2 separate regions of the Homo sapiens genome follow, and region 2 is linked to region 1. The links are contacts of gene promoters, found by promoter capture Hi-C in human tissues and cell types (Jung and others, 2019). All regions are on one chromosome and are shown on one strand. Each heading gives the region's core, a stretch centred on a gene start or on the middle of the fragment in contact. The rest is flanking DNA. Distances are from core to core; before and after follow the strand shown.

Region 1 (7,457 bases), core at 1,550-4,049:
ACAAATTATGAAGAACTTAAGAAGAAATACAGGCTGGGTGTGGTGGCTCACGCCTATAATACCAGCACTTTGGGAGGCCAAGGTGGGAGGATCACTTGAGCCCAGGAGTTCAACACCAGCTTGGGACAACATAATGAGAGGCCAGTCTCTTAAAAAAAAAAAAAAAAAATTAGCTGGGCGTGGTGTTGCACCTGTAATCACAGCTACCTGGGAGGCTGAGGTAGAAGGATCACTTGAGCCCAGGAGTTCAAGGCTGGAGTGAGCTGTGATTGTGCCACTGCACTCCAGCTTGGGTGACAGAGCAAGATCTTTTTTCTAAAAAAAGAAAAGAAGGCCGGGCGCGGTGGCTCACGCCTGTAATCTCAGCACTTTGGGAGGCTGATGGGGGCAGATTACAAGGTCAAGAGATCAAGATCATCCTCACCAACATGGGGAAACCGTCTCTACTAAAAATACAAAAGTTAGCTGGGCGTGGTTGTGCGTTCCTGTAGTCCCAGCTACTCAGGAGGCTGAGGCAGAATAGCTTGAAACTGGGAGGTGGAGGTTGCAGTGAGCCGAGATCGCATCACTGCACTCCAGTCTGGCAACAGAGCAAGACTGCATCTCAAAAAAGCCCCCAAAACAAAAAAAAAAAAAATGAAAAAAGAAAAGAAATGTAGTGATGGGGGTCAGTTGTGGCCCCTGTGTCATTTGTCACCTTTTTGGGCCTTAGCTCTCCCATCTATGGAGAAAACAGAGACCAGAATGGAGAAGAAGGGTGACCAGAATTACAAGATGAGAGGCTCTTCTTTGAAAAATTCAAATTAACCATATAATGGCTGAGTTCAGAAATCTGGCCAGGCTCCTTCTCCTGGAAAAAGCATGGGAAAGGCAGGATCTTGAGGGAAGGGAAGATTTTGGATTGATTAGGGGGAGCGGGGGAGGAAGAGGAAGAGGAAGAGTATTCCTGGGCCAAAGTTAGAGACAAACCTGATAGGAAGACCTATTCTAGGGGAGGGGATGGTGATCAAGCCCACAGCCAGATTGGACTGAGGCCTGTGGAGGATGGTAGGGGTATCTGAGGGTTCCCAAGGTTGGTTCTATCTGGAGATGCCTGAGGCTGGAGGCATCTTAAAAACTCTGGGTAAAGGTCTGGCTCCTACAGGCAGCAGCTCCCTCTTCATAGGGCCTGAGCCAAGTGTTGGCAACAGGGCTGATGGGAAACCAGGGTGCTCTTGGCCTTGCCACCAGCAGAAAATGGTCCCCAGCCCACAGTAGGTGCTCAATAATTATTTACTAAAGGAATGAGTATATCATTGGAAAGACATTGCCCATCTCTAGGCCTCAATTTATCTGTGAGATGGCAGGTCAGGATGGAGATTATAATTTACTGGGAAGACTAAGCCACAGCACAGTGATCCTGTGGTGCTAGTCCTACCTAATTCAGGAGGTCGACACACAGAGGTTCTGGGGGCTCAGGCACTTGTCCACGGTCTGGGATCCTAACCAGTCCGTGACTGCAAATCCAGCTTTTCTTTTTTCTTTTCTTTTTTTGAGACGGAGTTTCGCTCTTGTTGCCCTGGCTGGAGTGCAATGGCAAGATCTCGGGTCACCGCAACCTCCGCCCCGTCCAGGAGAAGGGGCACTGAGGAGGGACCCAGTTCTCCCGCGGCTCTGCCGGATTCAGGCTGCAGCGCTTCCAGCGCTCCCCGAGGTGGGTGCGGGTTTCTACTGTGGCAGCAGGGCGGGCCCCCATCGGCTGGGTTTTCAAATAGAAGAGAAAACCGACCCAGAGGCCGCGCCCTACTGACCTGCGCGGGGGTGCGGGGGGAGTCACGACGACCTCCCCCACCTCCCCCAGCCTCTAGGCTATTACATCCGTCCCCAGCCTTCGGGCTCAGAATAGGAGGCAGGGAAAGGTGTGAGGGGCACTGAGGTCGGGGGAGGAGCGAGAAGACCCGAAAGCCAGGCGTGTTGAGGGCAAGGTGGGCAACAGAACCTTCTTGGTCATTCGAGGCAGCCCTCGCTAATGACCATTGGGGTCCCAACACTCGAATCCCCACCTAAGTCCTATTCAGATAGTGACTGGGAGTGGGAAGGGAGTTTGAGATCCTAAGTCCCACCCTCTGGGCTGGGAGCCTGAGGCCAGAGAGGGGAAGTGATTTCCTCAAGGTCACTCAGCAAAACAGCGCCCAGCCCGGGCCAAAGCTCAGGTGTCTCCCAACCCCCTCCCCCCGGCCATCACCCCCAGAACTCGGTCCCCCGGAGCTGAGGTCTGCGCGACTGGATTTAGGGGCAGAATGAGTGCGTCGGGAACCCCAAAACCCTAGATCAAGATACAAGGGGAGTCGACGGCCCGGAAACCTCGCTGCGGGTGCCCTAAGCGCGAGGCCGCCCGGGCAGGGCCGCCCAGGGACCGGGGCGCTGGGTGCGGGGCACGGGGCTCCACCTCCCGCGGGCTGGGGCGCGCAGCGCGCGGCCCCTTTAAGAAAGTTCGCCGGGCGAGTTCATCAAAGTTTAAAAACTCGCCGTGGAGAAGGGCGCGGGGGAAGAGGAGAGAGGGAGAGCGCTGACCCAGGCGAGAGAGAGGGGAAAGGCCCGGCCGGAGGCCGGCGCCCCGCGGCCGGGGCCGGGGCGAGCCCACGGTGGGCGGTGGGGATTGGCTGCGCGTTCCCCCGGAGACCGCGCGGCGGGCGGGGGAGGGGGCTGGCCGGGCCCCAGCTGAGGCCGGTTCCGGCCCCGCCCCCCGCCGCCGGCGCCCGCCCCCTCCCCCGGCGCCCGCCCCCCGCCGCCGCTGCCGCCGCCGCCGCCGCCGCGGCGCACTCGCCGGTCGCAGTGAAAAGGCGGAGGCGGCGGCCCCTCCGGCTCCCACTGCCTCCCCCGCCGCACCCCCTCCCCACCTTCCGCACCCGCCAAACTTGATGTGACCCTGGCCCGACGCGGAGGCTGCCCCTCTCACTGCCCCGTGGGTCCCCCGCCACCCGCTCCGCACCCGCGAGCGCACCGCTCCCCGCGCCCCTTCCCACTTCCCGCGGGGCCGGCGCCGCGCTCGCCCTCGCGTTCCTTCCCGCCGCCCCCTCCCCCGCACCATGAGCAACCTGAAGCCGGACGGCGAGCACGGCGGCAGCACCGGCACCGGCTCCGGCGCGGGCTCCGGCGGCGCCCTGGAGGAGGAGGTGGGTCTGTGGCCCCGGGACTTGCCGGGTGAAGCGCACGCCAGGCGGGCGCGGGAGAGGGCGAGCGGGGCCTGCCGCGCCTCGCGGGGCCGGGGTGGCCATCGCTCCCGGCGCCTTCCCGCCGCTGCCCTCTCGCCCGGGTAGGAGCGGCCCGTGTCCGCGGGCGGGAGCGTGCGGCCTGGACTGCCCCGCCGGACAGGCATTGTCTCCCCGCCCTCTCGGGCTCGAGGCGGGCCGCGCGCGCCGGCCGCCGTCCGGGCGTCCCGCGGTGGGCGAGATGCGCCGCGTCCGTTCCATGCCTGCCGCCCGCGCGCCCCTTGCTCCCCACCCCGTAGCCGCTCGCCGCCCTCCTCCGAGGCGCACCTCCTGCGTGGCCAGGACCCCGCCTCGGCGGCACGGAGCGGAGCGGGATTAGCACGGCCCGAGGGCGGCACCCTCACTCCACTGCCTTTTCCGCCCTGACCCCCTCCCCGTGACCTTGGAGGCCTGGGCCGGCCGGCTCCTCGGTTCCTGCGAGCTGTTGTCATGGGGGTGGGCGGGCTTTCTTCACAGCCCCAGAACCTGGGCTTTGGCAGAGGTGAGCCCACAATTTAATTAGTTTGGAAGATGACTAAAGACACTCAGTTCGTCCTTCTCCTCTCTCTGGGTTTGTCCTGGCAACCAAGCCAGGACCCCAAAGCTGGCCTGGGTGGGATCCTGCCAGGAGGGGCGAAATCATCTCGTCCACCGGCCATGTGCGAAAGGGAGGGAGTGTAAGGCGGCTCCGTGGAACCACCAGCAGCTGGGTGGTTAATGGATGGTAGGGAGGATGTGTGTGCGGGGTGGGGTGCTGGATAAAAGCCTCAAAGATATCAGTGAATAGGGACGAGGAGCTAGGCTGGCGGAGACAAGAACTGGAGTAGAAGGGGACAGGCTTCGCAGGGCCTCTGGCCTCTGCTGCGTCATTCTAGGGGTGAGAGAGCCTTCCTGCCCCTGCCCTGGCATGTTCTCGCCCAGGAAACCAAGGGCTGGTTATCCACCTTGGGCGCCCTTCCCCTTGGCCTGGGGGAGAAACCGCAGAGCCCCTGGTGTGGACTGGTGTTGCCTCCTCCCCTTGTGCTGGGGGTTGGTGCAGAATGGCGCCGGTGGCCCTCGGCTGGGCTGGGCTCAGCGCCGCCAGCTCCCACTCGGCTATTCAGAGACCTTCAGCCAGCCCCAGTCGATGACAATCTAGGTTTGGATCTCCACTTTTTGGCGGAAGGGGAAGGGAAGAATATACAACTGTGACATCTGTCCACTAATGACTTAAGTGTGGTGGATTTGTTTGGGCTCCAGAGGCCTTGCCCTCCTTGTACCTTGATGCCAAAAGGCCCTTGGCTTTGGGGATCTTGCCCCCATCCTGACTCTACCTGGCTGTTAGAATCTCCCTTGACAGTTGGGGAGGGTGACAGGGTTGCTAGCGTACTTGGAGTCTCTGCTTGGCCCCCTGCTGTGGGCTGAAACTGGGGGAGAGCATGTCTCCTATAAAGCTGAATGGGGACCCAGAACCCCACTTCTGCTAAAGGGTCTACTTCAGTGGGGACTTCACACTGCCCAAGAGGCTGGTACTGGGCAAACCCTCAGACCCACTGCTGTTGGGTGAGAAGGGTGACCCATGTGGCCATTCTAAGTCTTGAAAAAAGCATTTGAGGTTTTAGCCACTCCTTTCTAAGTACCTTTTCTGGGAAAGAGGGCAGGATTCTCAAAAAGTGGAATCCCTACTATTCCTCCTTGGGAGTTGAGATGGCCTGCGGCCCTATGGTGGTTCCAAATCCGCGCACTTGGAAAAGGGCATGGTGGGCTCGCGTTTAGCAGAGGTCCAGAACAAAGGGTTCTGAGGGTCTCCTGGAGCCCAGTGTCTGTCTGGTCTGGTAAGGGAAAGGGTTATTCCCCAAGCCCTGGCCTAGTCTTCTGAATAGTGGGCCATGAGCCCCTGTGCTGGTGGCTCCATCTTGGATTGGTGGTGTAGGCTGGAACTGGAATCCTCCCTGTAGTTTAGATGCTCCCTAAGCAGTCAGTTCTGCAGCCCCTAAGAGCAACCATCTGGAGAATCAGCGTTAGCAGTGGTTTACTCCCATGGCTGACACAGGTGGCTTCTTCCCAGTCAACTCTTGGAGACTAGCGAGAGCAAGCCCAGGAAACCAAGGAATGCTGCTGCACGCCGTAAGACCTCAATTCCTAAAGGCGCTGGGTCACTGGCGAAGGGAGTGTATTTTTCATGGTTCTGGGAGTTATCAGTGAGGTTGCTTGTCCTGAACTGCTTTGGATAGCCTTGACTCTGCCTGCTTGACTACCTTACCTATAGGCTTTATCCATGTCATACGCATTAAGTTTTCTTTCTGGACCCAGGGGTTAAGGATACAAGTGAAAATTCTCAGCCTAGGAGGTCGGAAGGACTTGCCAGGAAGTGGTGGTAGGTGAAATGCAATGATAGATAAAATAAAGGCATATGAGCACATGGTACCATGGTGCTCCTGAGAGATTAGAGGTCAGCCTTCCCTGAGATGTGGGTGAGTAGGAGGAGCAAGGTTAGACCTGTGGGGGTGGAAAAGGCATTCCAAGAGGAGGGAGTCGCATGTATAAGTGAGGAGGTAGGTTTGTGTAACCACATGGCTTGTTTGGGTAACTACCTGGAGTTTGCTATATTGCAGCAATATCAGGCAGTGCAGCCATAATGAGAGTTTGGAATTAGGGCAGTAATGACTGTGGTATTACGGGAAAATTGGCATTTTTCTGCCACTTGGGAAGATGTGTTCGAAGCTTTGATACCCTTTGAAAGCTAAGGAGGGCAGTAAGGAATTAAGGGGAGGAGCTGAATGTCCCTCCCAATCTAGAGGTTGTGCTGTCCTGCAGGTAAGTCTTGACTGGAGCTGGGGACGACATGAGGTAATACAGTACATGAACCTGTCCGGGGCAGGCTGTATCAGTGCTGCCAAACTTCAGACCTAAATGTCCTGTCTTAGTGATTCTCAAGGGATAACTGGGTAATTACCATGTCTCTGAAGAGGGGTAAATGTGATTTCTATTTTGAAAGTGGAGACCTTGCTTTCATAATACAGTTGCTGTTGGCCTTCCATTTCTATGGGTTCCCTATCCATGAATCCAGTTGTAGATAAAAAATACAATAATAAAAAATAATACAAATAAATATAACAACTATTTACATAGCATTCACATTGTATTAGGTATTGTGAATAATCTAGAGATGAGTTAAAGTATCCAGAAAATGTGCATAGGTTATTTTTTTATTTGTTTGAAGGGGAGTTTCACTCTTGTCACCCAGGCTGGAGTGCAGTGGCACAATCTCAGCTCACTGCAACCTCTGCCTCCCAGGTTCAAGCAATTCTCCTGCCTCAGCCTCCTGAGTAGCTGGGATTACAGGTGCCCGCCACCATACCTGGCTAATTTTTGTTTTTTAGTAGAGACAGGATTTCACCATGTTGGCCAGGCTGGTCTTGAACTCCTGTCCTCAGGTGACCTGCCCACCTCAGTCTCCCAAAGTGCTGGGATTACAGGCCTGAGCCACGGCGCCCAGCCTTGTTTTGTTTTTGAGACAGTCTCTGTTGCCCAGATTGGGGTGCAGTGGCGCAATCTCGGCTCACTGCAACCTCCTCCCAGGTTCAAGTGATTCTCCTGCCTCAGCCTCCAGGATTGCAGGTGCACGCCACCATGCCTGGCTAATTTTTGTATTTTTAGTAGAGACGGGGTTTCACCATGTTGGCCAGGCTGGTCTTGAACTCCTGACCTCAAGTGGTCCATCCAGCTCGGCCTCCCAAAGTGCTGAGATTACAGACGTGAGCCACCGTGCCCGGCCTGTGCATAGGTTATATACAAATTTTATATAAGAGACTTGAACATCTGGAGATGTTGATATCCAAGGGGGAACCCTGGAACCAATCCGCCTCAGATATCGAGGGACAACTAAACGGTACGAGGTGATACTAAGTTATAGTAATTTTTAAAAACCACTTTTTTGAGGTATGATTGGCATATATAAAGGTGTATATTTAGTGTATACAACTTGAAGAGTTTGGAGATTGTTAAAGTAATTTTTAACTGGGGGGCACCCCTGGAAGGGGGAGAGTGGTATTTATACTATTGGGTTGAGGGAGGATATAAGTTTCTTAAGAGTTAAAAAAGTTTTTGCCAGCTTAATGGTAAGCTATAGAAAGGCAGGGGTTAATGGCAGCTAAGGGGGCTACAGTTTGACCTGAGGGGCTTTGCCCTTCCCTGCCCTTCCACCTCATCCCAGTGTGGCTGGGACAGGGCTGCTGCTTGCAGGCC
Region 2 (7,358 bases), core at 4,603-7,102, 65 kb after region 1:
ACACACACACACGTGTATATATATATATACGTGTATATATATACGTGTATATATATATACGTGTGTATATATATACGTGTATATATATACGTGTGTATATATATACGTGTACATATATACGTGTGTATATATATACGTGTGTATATATATACGTGTATATATATATATACGTGTGTATATATATACACATGTCTTGCTCTGTCACCGAGGCTGGAGTGCAGTGGTGTTGATCTCAGCTCACTGCAACCTCCATCTTCCAGGGTCAAGTGATTTTCCCACCTCAGCCTCTCAAGTAGCTGGGACTACAGGTACATGCCATCACGCCTGGCTAATTTTTGGTGGACTCAGGATTTCACCATGTTGGCCAGGCTAGTCTCAAACTCCTGGCCTCAAGTGATCCACCCGCCTTGGCCTCCCAAAGTGCTGAGATTACAGGCGTGAGCCACCACGTCCCGCCAATAAAATGTTTAGTTAAAAAAACTGGCTGGGCCCGGTGGCTCACACCTGTAATCCCAGCACTTTGGGAGGCTGAGGTGGGTGGATCACGAGGTCAAGAGATCGAAACCATCTTGGCTAACATGGTGAAATCCCGTCTCTACTAAAAATACAAAAAATTAGCCGGGCATGGTGGCGGGCACTTGTAGTCCCAGCTACTCAGGAGGCTGAGGCAGGAGAATGGCGTGAACCTGGGAGGCGGAGCTTGCAGTGAGCCGAGATCACGCCACTGCACTCCAGCCGGGACGACAGAGTGAGACTCCATCTCAAAAAAAAAAAAAAAAAACTACAGGCCGGGTGCAGTGGCTCACGCCTGTAATCCAAGCACTTTGGGATGCTGAGGCAGGTGGATCATGAGGTCAGAAGATTGAGACCATCCTGGCTAATACAAAAAAATACAATATATACAAAAAAATACAATATAATAAAAAAAATACAAAAAATTAGCTGAGCATGGTGGCAGGCACCTGTAGTCCCAGCTACTCGGGAGGCTGAGGCAGGAGAATGGCGTGAACCCAGGAGGTGGAACTTGCAGTGAGCCGAGATTGAGCCACTGTACTCCAGTCTGGGCGACAGAGACTCTGTCTCAAAAAAACAAAAACAAAAACAAAACCTATATAGACTGGTCATCATGGTGAAACCCCATCTCCACTAAAAATACAAAAATTGGCAGGGCGCAGTGGCTCATGCCTGTAATCCCAGCATTTTGGGAGGCCGAGGCGGGCAGATCACCTGAGATCCAGAGTTCGAGACCAGCCTGGCCAACGTAGTAAAACCCTGTCTCTACTAAAAATACAAAAATTAGCCAGGAGTGATGGTGCATGCCTGTAATCACAGCTACTCGGGAGGGTGAGGCAGGATAATTGCTTGAACCTGGGGGGTGGAGGTTGCAGTGAGCCGAGATCACGCCATTGCACTCTAGCCTGGGCAACAAGGGCAAAACTGTCTCAAAAAAAAAAAAAAAAAAAAAGTAGTTGGGTGTAGTGGCGTACACCTGTAATCCCAGCTACCCAGGAGGCTGAGGCACAAGAATTGCTTGAACTCGGGAGGCAGAGGTTGCAGTGAGCCAAGACGGTGCCACTGCACTCCAGCATGGGCAGCACAGCAAGACTCTATCTCAAAAAGAGAAAAAAAGGCTGGGCACGGTGGCTCACGCCTGTAATCCCAGCACTTTGGGAGGCCAAGGCAGGCGGATCACGAGGTCAGGAGATCGAGACCATCTCCACTAAAAATACAAAAAAATTAGCCGGGCATGGTGGCGGGCGCCTGTAGTCCCAGCTACTCGGGAGGCTGAGGCAGGAGAATGGCATGAACCCGGTAGGCGGAGCTTGCCGTGAGCCGAGATTGCACCACTGCACTCCAGCCTGGGTGACAGAGTGAGACTCCGTCTCAAAAAAAAAAAAACAAAAAAACGCTTTATTGAGGTAATTGTAGACTTACATGCAATAAGAAGTAATAGTGAGAGATCCCTTACACACTTTTCCCAGTTACCCCAGTGGTAGCATTCTACAAAACTATCGCACAGTATCATAACCAGGATATCGACATTGATAAAATCCACCAAACTTACTCAGATGTCCCCAGTTTTATTTGTACTAGTGTGTGAGTGTGTGTGTGTGTGTGTGTGTGTATGGGTGTGTAGTTCAATACAATTTCATCACACATGTAGGTTCGTATATCCTCCACTGCTGAACAGTTCCAATACCACAAAGATCCCTCAGGGTTGCCCTTTGATATCCACACGTGTTTCCCTCCTGACTCCTCCCAGGCCCCATTCCAAACTCCTGGCAACCTTCATTTTGAAAATTTTGTTATCTCTCTCTTTTTTTTTTGGGGGGATGGAATTTCGCTTTTGTTGTCCAGGCTGGAAGCAATGGAGCAATCTTGGCTCACTGCAACCTACGCCTTCCGGGTTCAAGAGATTCTCCTGCCTCAGCCTTCCGAGTAACTGAGATTATAGGTGCCCACCACCACAGTGACTGATTTTTTTAAATTTTTGGTAGAGATGGGGTTTTGCCATATTGACCAGGCTGGTCTCAAACTCCTGGCCTCAGGTGATCTGCCCATCTCGGCCTCCCACAGTGCTAGGATTATAGGCGTGAGCTACCATGCCCGGTCGAAAATTTTGTCATTTCAAAAACCGTTATATAAGGCCGGGTGCGGTGGCTCACACCTGTAATCCCAGCACTTTGGAAGCCCGAGGCAGGTGAATCATCTGAGGCCAGAAGTTCAAGACCAGCCTGGCCAACATGGTGAAACCCCGTCTCTCCTAAAAATAAAAAAATTAGCCAGTCATGGTGGTACACACCTGTAATCACAGCTACTCAGGAGGCTGAGGCAGGAGAATTGCTTGAACCCAGGAGGCGAAGGCTGCAGTGGACGAGATTGTGCCACTGCACTCCAACGTGGGTGACAGAACGAGACCCTGTCTCAAAAAACAAAAAAACCAGGCTGGGCGTGGTGACTCCCGCCTGTAATCCCAGCACTTTGGGAGGCTGAGGTGGGCGGATCACGAGGTCAGGAGATCGAGACCATCCTGGCTAACACGGTGAAACCCCGTCTCTACTAAAAATACAAAAGATTAGCCAGGCGTGGTAGCGGGCACCTGTAGTCCCAGCTACTTGGGAGGGAGGCTGAGGCAGGAGAATGGCATGAACCCAGGAGGCAGAGCTTGCAGTGAGCCGAGATTGCGCCACTGCACTCCAGCATGGGCTACAGCGCGAGACTGTGTCTCAAAAAACAAAAACAAAAAAACAAGCTGTTATATAAATAGAATCATACAGTATGTAACCTTTTTAAAATCAGGGCCAGGCTCGTTGGCTCATGTCTGTAATCCCAGCACTTTGGGAGGATGCGGCAGGAGGATTGCTTGATTCCAGGAGTTTCAGACCAGCCTGGGCAACATAGTGAGATCCCATCTCTACAAAAAATAAAAAAATTAGCCTGATGTGGTGCACACTTATAGTCCCAGCTACTTGTGAGGCTGAGGTGGGAGGATCACTTGAGATTGGAAGTTAGAGGTGAGGCTGCAGTGAACTGTGATCATGCCACTACATGCCAGTCTGGGCCACAGAGTGAGACCCTGTCTCAAAACAACAACAAATAACCAGCATAATTCCTTGGAGAGTCATCCAAGTTGCTGTGTGTTGATAGTTCATTCCTGTTTGTTGCTGAGCAATATTCCATGGTGTGGATGCACCATGGTTTCTTTAACCATTCACCTACTGAAGGATACCTGAGCTAATTTTAAGTTTTTGCTATTATTATGGATAAAGCTGCTATGAACATATATGTACCGGTTTTTGTGTGAACATAAGTCTTCATTTCTCTGGGATAAATGCCCAGGCATGCAATTTCTTGGTCATGTGGTAGCTGCATGTTTAGTTTTTTAAGAAAATGCCAAACTGTTTTCCAGAGTGACTATGTTACTTTTTTTTTTTTTTTTTTTTTTGAGACAGAGTCTCGCTCTGTCGCCCAGGCTGGGATGCAGTGGAGCAATCTTGGCTCACTGCAACCTCCACCTCCTGGGTTCAAGTGAGTCTCTTGCCTCAGCCTCCTGAGTAGCTGGGACTACAGGTGTGTGCCACCATGCCTGGCTAATTATTGTATTTTTAGTAGAGGCGGGGTTTCACTATATTGGTCAGGTTGGTCTTGAACTCCTGATCTTGTGATCTGCCCGCCTCGGCCTCCCAAAGTGCTGGGATTACAGGCGTGAGCCACTGCACCCAGCCTGTGTTACTATTTTTTAAAGACTAGAGAGCATGTTTGTGTGCTGAAGGGGGAGATTTAGATTTTAGGAACTAGGTCCTTGAAGATGGGAGAGAGGAAGTTCCATAGGTTTTGCCGTGGGATTGGCTAGTTTTTATTGGCTAGTTTTTTTTTTTTTTTTTTTTTTTTTTTTTTTTTTTTTTATAGACAGGGTCATCCAGGCTGGAGTGCAGTGGCATGATCACAGCTCACTGTAGCCTCAACCTCCTGGGCCCAAGCTATCCTCCTACCTCAGCCTCCCAAGTAGCTGGGACTACAGGGGTGTATCAGCACGCCTGGCTAATTTTTTACATTTTTTTGTAGAGATGGGGGTCTCTTTACATTGCCCAGGCTGGTCTCAAACTCCTGGGCTCAAGCAATCTGCCTGCCTTGGCCTCCCAAACTCCTGGGATTATAGGTGTGAGCCACTGTGCCTGGCCAGGATTGGCTAGTCTTTAGCAAAGGGACATCCACTTCTCAGAGCACTAGGAGGAGACAGATGTAAGTAGGCGGAGATGCAGATGGGTTTGTAGGCTGTGGTAGGAATGACAGGGTATTTCCTATTGCTTCTATTTCCTTAGTAACATGGTGGCTAGGTCATCAGCTAAGATGAGAGGGGTAGAGGTTTTGCAGAGAGAGCCTAGGGAAAAAATTCTTCTTGAGAGTGGAAAAGCAAACTTAATGGGGAAACGTAGTAGGAATTACCCAGCAGTATTGACAGTCCGTTTGAGGTTAGGATCATGAACATGAGTGAAGATAACCTGCCTGGTATTGTGATTTTGCTGTAGCAAAAGCACTCGGAAAGCAAATGGTTGAATTTATGTGGAGTAGGGCTTTGCCAGGCAAGCACAATGGGAGGAGACAGAGGGAAGGAGTAGTTATAGTGATGGATGATAGACAAGCTAGAAAAGGCTGGGCGTGGTGGCTCATGCCTGTAATCTCAGCACTTTGGGAGGCCAAGGCGGGCAGATCATTTGAGCCCAGGAATTCAAGACCAGCCTGGGCAATATGGCGAAACCCCATCTCCACCCAAAATACAAAAATTAGCTGGGTATGGTGGCATGTGCCTGTAGTCCCAGCTACTTGGGAGGCTGAGGCAGGAGAATCCAGGAGGCAGAGGTTGCAGTGAGCCGAGATGGCGCCACTGGACTCCAGACTAGGTGACAGAGCAAGACCCTGTCTTAAAAAAAAAAAAAAAAGCCGGGCACGGTGACTCACGCCTGTAATCCCAGCACTTTGGGAGGCCGAGGCAGGTGGATCACAAGGTCAGGAGTTCAAGACCAGCCTGGCCAAGATGGTGAAATCCTGTCTTTACTAAAAATACAAAAATTAGCCAGGTGTTGTGATGGGTGCTTGTGATCCCAGCTACTCGGGAGGCTGAGTCAGAGAACTGCTTGAATCTGGGAGGCGGAGGTTGCAGTGAGCAGAGATCACACCACTGCACTCCAGCCTGGGCAACAGAGCAAGACTGTCTCAAAAAAAAAAAAAAAAGAAAAGAAAAAAAGAAGCTAGAAAAGAAGGGATCTGGGAGCTGAGATTGCACAATTATACTCCATCCTCAGCGACAGAGTGCAAAAAAAAAAAAAGACCGGGCACGGTGGCTCACGCCTGTAATCCCAGCACTCTGGGAGGCCGAGGCAGGTGGATCACAAGGTCAAGAGATCAAGACCATCCTGGCTAACACGGTGAAACCCCGTCTCTACTAAAAATACAAAAAATTAGCTGGGCATGGTGGCGGGCGCCTGTAGTCCTAGCTACACGGGAGGCTGAGGCAGGAGAATGGCATGAACCCAGGAGGCAGAGCTTGCAGTGAGCCGAGATCGCGCCACTGCACTCCAGCCTGGGTGACAGAGTGAGACTCCATCTCAAAAAAAAAAATAAAAAAAAAATAAAAAGAAAAGAAGAGATGTGAGTCAAAATTAGGACTACTATTATATTATTAAAAAGATAAAAGATGGTCAGGCATGGTGGCTCATGCCTGTTATCTCAGCACTTTGGGAGGCTGAGGTGGGTGGATCACTTGAGGTCAGGAGTTCAAGACCAGCCTGGCCAACATGGAGAAACCCTGTCTCTACTAAAAATACAAAAACTAGATGGGTGTGGTGGTGGGTGCCTGTAATCCCAGCTACTTGGGAGGCTGAAGCAGGAGAATCACTTGAGCCCAGGAGGTGGAGCTTGCAGTGAGCTGCAATCACGTCACTGCACTCCAGCCTGGACAACAGAGTGAAACTCCATCTCAAAGAAAAAACAAGACAAAAGACAAGTGTTGGTCTGGATGCAGAGAAAAGGGAACCCTTGCACCCTGTTGGTGGGAATGTGAATTAGTATAGCCTTTATGGAAAACAGTATGGCGGTTCCTCAAAACATTAAGAATAGTCTGGGCATGGAGGCTCATGCCTATAATCCCAGCACTTTGGGAGGCCAAGGCAGGCAAATCACAAGGTCAGGAGTTTGAGACCAGCTTGGCCAACATGGTGAAACCCTGTCTCTACTAAAAATACAAAAAATTAGCTGGGCGTGGTGGCGTGTGCCTGTAATCTCAGCTACTCCGGAGGCTGAGATAGGAGAATCGCTTGAACCTGGGAGGCGGAGGTTGCAGTGAGCTGAGATCGCTCCGCTGCACTCCAGCCTGGGTGAGAGAGTGAGACTCCATCTCAAAATAAAAAATAAAAAACATTAAGAATAGAACTACTTTATGATCCAGGAATCCCACTACTGGGTATATATCCAAAGGACCTGAAATTAGCATGTCAAAGAGATTTGTATTCCCATGTTCATTGCAGCATTATTCACAACAGCCAACACATGGAAACAACCACAGTGCCCAACAACACACGAATGAATAAAGAAAAATGTACATATAGACAACGGGGTACTATTCAGCCTTAAAAAAAGAAGGAAACTGTATCATTTGCGACAACATGGATGAACCTGGGAGATGTTATGTTATGTGAAATAAACCAGGCACAAAACAAGAAATACTGCATGATTTCACTTACATGTAGAGTGTGAAAAAAATCAAGCTTAGACCAAGAATGGTGGCTCAGACCTGTAATCCCATTCATTGCTTTGGGAGGCTGAGACAGGAGGATCCCTTGAGACCAGGAGTTTGAGAC

Evidence for each region. Contacts are between HindIII fragments. The study calls those that stand out against the background at their distance.
Region 2: a contact is called between a fragment that was not itself captured here and the fragment with the promoter of RBPMS2 in region 1, in 8 of the 25 tissues and cell types used here (IMR-90 fibroblasts, bladder, heart right ventricle and 5 more).

Annotation. Positions count from the first base shown.
Region 1 is chr15:64,770,931-64,778,387 of GRCh38, reverse strand. It overlaps RBPMS2 (RNA binding protein, mRNA processing factor 2), which reads left to right and starts at 2,799. Exons shown (of 8, transcript NM_194272.3): 1 at 2,799-3,155. The coding sequence starts at 3,069. RefSeq lists enhancers at 1,246-2,091, 2,092-2,938, 6,747-7,248 and a silencer at 2,374-2,623. The HindIII fragment of the contact is 13,175 bases long and covers 1-7,457 here.
Region 2 is chr15:64,708,634-64,715,991 of GRCh38, reverse strand. It overlaps LOC124903507 (a long non-coding RNA gene), which reads right to left. Exons shown (of 3, transcript XR_007064679.1): 2 at 3,287-3,415. Among named protein-coding and RNA genes, the nearest start is that of OAZ2, 9.0 kb to the right of the region's middle. RefSeq lists a silencer at 4,716-4,916. The HindIII fragment of the contact is 4,561 bases long and covers 3,572-7,358 here.